Regions from separate parts of the Homo sapiens genome. Here region 1 is linked to region 2. The links are contacts of gene promoters, found by promoter capture Hi-C in blood cells and fetal thymus (Javierre and others, 2016). All regions are on one chromosome and are shown on one strand. The core of a region is centred on a gene start or on the middle of the fragment in contact, and the rest is flanking DNA. Distances in the headings are between cores, read along the strand shown.

What was found. Contacts are between HindIII fragments. The CHiCAGO score rates a contact against its expected background, and 5 or more counts as called.
Region 1: a contact is called between a fragment that was not itself captured here and the fragment with the promoter of KLHL6 in region 2, in 2 of 17 cell types (megakaryocytes and endothelial precursors). The highest score is 5.4, in megakaryocytes.

The regions. Positions count from the first base shown.
Region 1 is chr3:183,661,812-183,665,345 of GRCh38, reverse strand. It overlaps KLHL24 (kelch like family member 24), which reads right to left. Exons shown (of 8, transcript NM_017644.3): 4 at 1,704-1,888; 5 at 307-425. Among named protein-coding and RNA genes, the nearest start is that of KLHL24, 28 kb to the right of the region's middle. The HindIII fragment of the contact is 991 bases long and covers 1,770-2,760 here.
Region 2 is chr3:183,554,295-183,557,888 of GRCh38, reverse strand. It overlaps KLHL6 (kelch like family member 6), which reads left to right and starts at 2,183. Exons shown (of 7, transcript NM_130446.4): 1 at 2,183-2,528. The coding sequence starts at 2,236. The HindIII fragment of the contact is 8,561 bases long and covers 1-3,594 here.

The DNA of each region.
Region 1 (3,534 bases), core at 1,016-3,515, 110 kb before region 2:
ATTGGCCTGTCTGTATTTGATGTAACTCCTTTATTTTCCAATGCTTCTTAGGCATTTGGACTTCAGTGATGCATGAGAAGAGAAATGTGCTACACTGCCATGAATTCCAAATTAGGAGAACAAAATATCCATTCAAAAGTACAGTGTCATATTGTTTATATCTTTGGTTTATCTATTGAGGTTAGAAATGGAAGGAAATACAATTTGAATCCAAAATACCCAGAGGGTGAGTAAAATGAAAGATTCAGCTGTGGTATTTACTTTGGAAAGGTACCAGCAATAGTAATAAAAAGTGGTTTCTCTTACTTTACCAAGGAGGACAGCCATTTTGTGACGCCATCTGCCTTTATTGAGAGAGGCAACTCTGATCCAAATATTTAACTGTGAGTTATAAATCCAGACATCACGGCTGTTGATTCTTCCACCTTGAAATGCAAAACAATGCACACACGATAATTTATCATGATATAGCTGTCACCAAGAGATCTGTGCCACCAAGGCATAGGTAAAGAAAACATGGAATTCATTCATCTAATTCAAGAATTTGAGAATTCAGCTCAATAAATAAAGACCTCTTGAAATTTAATGGAAATAGTTCTACAGAGAAAATTTAAACTTTACCAATTGTTATCTTGATAAGTGATAATTATAGATCCAAAATAATTAAATATAGGATGTGAATTTTACAAACATAAAAGATTGTTAATTTAAGAGTAAGACATCAGAAGCACGCAAATAATGGTATTATTCTAAAGGTTTTTTTTTTAATTGACCGATTTTTCAAAAAGCATACTATTGTAAAAAATAAAGTATGTATTGTTATATTTCTCAGTGTGGATAATATATATAATAATCTGCAAAGCTGGTGAAATTATTTTACCAATTAACAGACTTCCCATCATAGATACTATAGTTATACTTTGTACAAGTCTGTCATTTTATTTTCTAATTTTAAAGGTAACATATCACAATCATAAAGAAGTTCAAGTTAAGAATTTTAAAGCAAATCTTATTTCATAAACTTTGCGGAGAATTTCAGAAAACATGGGTGAATTAGAAATGCTTAATTCTATGAGTACTTCTGACTTGCAAAGAGGTAAAGTTTAAAAAATTACAGCATATTCTACATGCATTTGAGAGCATTTAAAATATGACATGATTAAAGGTATCTTCTGGTGGATCTTTTGTAAATCATTCCATGTCATCTTGTACCTGTGTTTTTTTTGTTGTTGCTTTTTGTTTGTTTTTTGTTTTTGAGGCGGAGTCTTGCTTTGTCACCAGGCTGGAGTGCAGTGGCGCGATCTCGGCTTACTGCAATCTCCGCCTCCCGAGTTCAAGTGATTCTCCTGCCTCAGCCTCCTGAGTAGCTGGGACTACAGTTGCCCACTACCACACCTGGCTAATTTTTGTATTTTTTAGTAGAGATGGGGTTTCACCATGTTGGCCAGGATGGTCTCGATCTCCTGACCCGGTGATCTGCTTGCCTCGGCCTCCCAAAGTGCTGGGATTACAGGCGTGAGCCACCGCGCCTGGCCTTGTACCTGTTTTTAAGAGCAAAAAGTCATTCTTGGTTTTATTTGTTGTAAACTGATCTTCCTCAAGTGGGAGTATTCACATTTCACTATTTTAAGACACTGTTGATGTTTAAAATAATGAAGCTGTGTCCAAATTAAAAGTAGCTACTGTAATAATTCTATATTTACCTGAAACAAGAATGTCATTCCTTAGAGCACAGACTGCATACTCTGATTTGGTAAATTCTGGAAGCTTAGCCAAAGACTTCCATTCTCCTGTTACAGGATCGTAGCACTCAGTGTATGGAAGATTAAATCCTCCAACTCGCTCACATCCTCCAACGACAACTATCACCTCAGAATAGCCAGTGGACCTAAAATAATAATTATTAGCGTACATAAATAATATAATAATATTACATTAAAATATACTCCAGATTTTTTCTTAAAACTCTAAAAACAAACCACGCACTATTATAAACAGTTAAGTTTCTTCTCTGTGCATGTGCCAAACGGTACAGCCTGGAAATTACTTACTTTGAGAACGTTTATAGGGGAGCTAGTGACATCATTATTCCACAGAAAATTTCTGTTGCTATTTTTTTCTATTGGTTTTGACCTGAAAATTGTAAAAAAGTCCAAAGATCCTATCTAACCCAATCAGAATCCTGGCAATATTAAGGATGACTTTCAAATGCAGTTTTGCAGTGATTCAGATACGCATAACCACACAAGGTAAGATAATGCATTTTTTTCTAACTGTAGGAAAATGGTGCTCTTTCATCAGCTTGCTAGTTCTAAAAAACTAATTCATAGTATAATCCAAGCACCCTTTAAAGGAATATGTATATGTACTTGTTCAGAAATTAGTTTTTAAAATACAAAGTCAAGTAAATTAAGGTAATACAACTCAAAATGTTGGGCAATCACTAAAAAGGCTAACAGTTTATAACAAGAATGTTAAAGGAGAAAAGCAAGATGAAAAACTGTACATTAGGCATATTCAATACTATCTAAAAAATGTATCTGGAAAGAATATACCAAAATGCTAAAGATAGTTGTCTCTGAATTGTTTGGCTCCCCCCATTTCTATCATTACAAATTTCCAAACCAATAATGAGCCTGAGCTATTTTTAGAATGCAAAAAACAGCATTTAACACCACTAAAAGAATTCTAATGTTTCTGTTAATCACTGGCTTCTCTCATTTTTTAGATTTAAAATAGAGACAGGAATAACCAAAAGCTTATCCACAATTTTTTGTTCATAAAATTCAATTGATAGTTTAGGAATTTTAAAATTCTTTAGCTTTTATATTTTTCACAAATATAATCTAAATGAAAATGTTTTATAGTTACATTTTATGGTTGCTACAAGTTAAGTCTCACAAAGAAAAATGCCAACAATCCTTCTTCTCTTACTTATAGAGGGGAAAAAAAAACCCACATCAGGACACTGATTTGTAATTTTAGTCAGTGTGCTGTTACACAATTACAGTAGGAAAAAACAAGCAATATTGGCGTGTCTCTTTTAACAGAGCTGTTCTAGCTACATTTACTCAGACCTATGTCAACTAACCAAATCACGTACCTATTCTATGCCAGGCATACTTTTTCCGTTATAAAATCAGAAATAAATATGGGAGAAAAGAATTTTCTCTATACATGCAAACAAAAGTACTTTTAGGAATCCAGGAAATTATATAACCTTTACCTAGTATTTAGTAAAACATTAACAGAAGGACCTAAATATTATCAGTAATATTTACTATTTTCCAAGTAATTCCAAAATAAAAGTATTAAAAATAAAGAGAGCACAGCACCAGATACTTTAGTAGTATAACTACTGACTTATCTATCATTCTTTCCATATAAGTATTTCCTAAAACACACTTAAAATCTAAGACAAATCCTCAAAAAAGGTGATATTCCTCAAAGTCTTATTTATTAATCAATCAAAACAAACACTGCTAGTCACTGAAGTTAAATCACTTCTGTCTTAATATAAAATCCAGAGTAATG
Region 2 (3,594 bases), core at 934-3,433:
AACCTAAACTCCAAATTTTCTTGTAATTTTTATTAGAGTAAAATAAACCTATAAATGTATTCGGAAAGAATTGGTCCTTTTAATAATATTTAGTCTTTCCATAAAGGAACTTGGTATATTTATTTAAGTTTTCTTTCGAAACTCTTAGTAAAGTTTGTTAGTTTTCTTTATGTTGCTGGTTGCTGTTATTGCTAGGCATTTACATATGTTTTATTACCATTGTGAATGGCATTATTTTTCCATGACTTTTTTTTTTTTTTTGAGGCAGAGTTTCGCTCTTATTGCCCAGGCTGGAGTGCAATGGCACAATCTCAGCTCACTGCAACCTCCACCTCCCGGGTTCAAGCGATTCTCCTTCCTCAGCCTCCCAAGTAGCTGGGATTACAGGTGTACGCCACCGCGACTGGCTAATTTTTGTATTTTTAGTAGAGATGGGGGTTTCACCATGTTGCTCAGGCTGGTCTTGAGCTCCTGACCTTGTGATCCCCCTGCCTTGGTCTCCCAAAGTGCTGGGATTACAGGCATGAGCCACCACGCCCGGCCGTCAGGTTTCTTTATATGCTCCATTATAATCTTTTGGGACCACAATTGTATATTCAGTCCATCATCGATTGAAATGTCATTGTGCTGGGCATGACTGTACTTGTGACCGTTAATTTTAGATGTCAAGTTTACTGGGCTAAGAAATACCTAGCAACCTGTTAAAGCATTACCATGGGGCGTGTCTGTGAGGTTGTTTCCAGGAGAGATTAGTGAGTCTGAGTGGACTCGGTAGAGAAGATACACTCTCAGTGTGGGTGGGCACCATCCAATCAGCCAGGGGCCCAGAGAAAACAAAAACAGAAGAAAGGTCGATGTCTCTATCTCCTGAGGCTGGGATACAGTCATCTCCTGCCTTGAACAACAGGACTCCAGGATCCCCTGCCTTTGGACTTCAGGACTTACACCAGTCTCCCCACCCCCTGGATTCTCAGGCCTTTGGCTTTGGACTGAGAGTTATACCATCTTCTCTGGTTCTGAGGCCTTTGGACTTGAACTGAGCTCTCAGCAGTCTGTCATGCGACTTCTCAGTCTCCATAATCACGTGAGCCAATTCCCCTAATAATTTCCCTCTGCTATGCCTCTCTAGGTATCCTTTTGGTTCTGTCTCTCTGGAGTCCATCATCGACTGAAATATCATTATGCTGGGTATGACTGTAATTGTAATGGTTAATTTTAGATGTCAAGTTTGCTGGGCTAAGAAATACCTAGCAACCTGGTAAAGCATTACTGTTGGGCGTGAGAGAACGCTAACTGATACGCTCCTATAACTTCCCCAGGATATCATGGGATTTTAATAATGACAGTTATTACTACTTAACTGAGACATGCAGAGGTAATGAAAATACTTCAGGATCCACCGTTAGATGCACGGTCAGTAGATGTTGGGCTAATCTGAGACGTGCTATGGCAATTCGGTGTAGACCCACCCTGACTCATCCTCTGAGAAGATGCTGTTGATGGAGTTTTGGAAACCATTTCTTCTGTGCCCCCAAAGCATATTCGAAACAATAGACATTTTTTTTGGTGGGGGAAGACATGAAAGTTTGCCATGACGTTGTTTTCCCCTGGGTAGGGAGGAGGATGAAGATAGACGATCTGCAGTGCCGCCAGAAATGAGAATGTCAGGGATAAGTGGGGTTTCCATGGTTTACAAAGCACGGTTGTTGGATCATTGTGGGGTCTCAGACTCCTGGGAGGAGGAAGTGGGAGGATCATAGACTGTCTCCTGTCCATCCCCTCGCTGACGACTTGGGTTATTGAGCCACTAGGAGTACAAATGTGAAGCAGGAGGATTATAGACTGTCTCCTGTCCATCCCCTCATTGACGACTTGGGTTATTGATAGCATTAGGAGTACAAATGTAACAGCCACCACCGGAGGCTTCCTGCTCACGGATATGAGGTGGGAGATGCACCAAAATAAACACACAGCACTCACAGTGGACTCTGAGAGGACACTCCTCTTCCAGAACCCCCTCCCACACACCTATTCTAAGTAATTTCTAACCCTGTGATTACTCACAGAAAGAAGAAGAATAGAAGTTGCTGGCATTTGTAGTAACAGGATGAGAAAGTGCGAGACTTCCTGTTATGTGTGTGTGACAGCTGGTGATAAGTGGAGGGCCCTGCACAGGAAATCCGCTCAGCTCCTGCAATGGGGCCTGCCTGACACTTGGGCGCTCCTTCAGTCTCGATGTTGATGGCAGGACAAAGGGGCGCCTGGACCATGGGTGATGTGGTCGAGAAGAGTTTGGAAGGGCCCCTGGCACCTTCTACAGATGAGCCCTCCCAGAAAACAGGAGACTTGGTCGAGATCTTAAATGGGGAAAAGGTCAAATTTGACGACGCGGGACTCTCCTTAATTCTTCAGAATGGCCTGGAAACCCTGCGAATGGAAAACGCTCTGACAGATGTCATCTTGTGTGTGGACATTCAGGAATTCTCCTGCCACCGCGTGGTGCTTGCCGCAGCCAGCAACTATTTCAGGTCAGCATGCCTAGGACCAGAGTCAAATTGGGTGCAAGTTGCAAGGAAGAGGTGTGTTAGTGTGAGAGCCCAATCTTGAACAGTTGGCCATGATATTTATGGTTTACATATATATTAAGGCTTGTGTGTCTACTTAAAATATAAGAAAGGACACTATCACACTTTATTTTATTATTTATTTATTTATTTATTTTTGAGACGGAGTTTTGCTTTTGTTGCCCAGGCTGGAGTGCAATGGCGCAATCTCGGTTCACCGCAACCTCTGCCTCCTGGGTTCAAGCGATTCTCCTGCCTCAGCCTCCCGAGTAGCTGGGATTTGCAGGCATGCACCACAACACCCGGATAATTTTGTATTTTCAATAGAGATGGGGTTTCTCCATGTTGGTCAGGTTGGTCTTGAACTCCCGACCTCAGGTGATCCACCCGCCTCCGCCTCCCAAAGTGCTGGCATTACAGGTGTGAGACGCTGCGCCCGGCTTATCACACTTTAAATTTTAGGATTTAGGCCACATTAAAAGAGAGATTGGCATCATTTAAAAGCAATGCTTACATTCTATAGTAAACCTTTTGTGTATATTTCCTTGTTCCAAAGGATGGAAAATTACTGAAGTCATGGGGACTTTTTTCCCCCTTGGTCTGACTGGTGTTGGAAACATAATGTTGTCTTTGTTAATCAACAGACATAGAGAAAAAGGATGTGGCCCCTCTTCTGGAGTTGTCAAATGACTTGTTACAAATTAGGGGCTTCTTTATGTGTAGGCAGTGTGGGGAAAGGGAAAGCAGTTACAAAGATGCTTTAGATGGGAGAGGCCTCTAGTTACGATAAACTGGTGATCTCATAGTGGGAAGGCCTGAAGTCAGGAGACTTGGTTCCTTCTTGACAGTGAAACTTTAGGCAAGTCACAAAGTGCTCTGAATGTCTGTTTCATCATCTGTAAGGTGAGCACAATGATGATCACCTTTCAGGGCTGTCATAATTAAACAAGAGCGTGAAAAGGGTCCTACACAGTGTCTAGCATATAGTAAGTAGATGCTCAATATATCTTTCTTGGAATTCTTTTTCTGA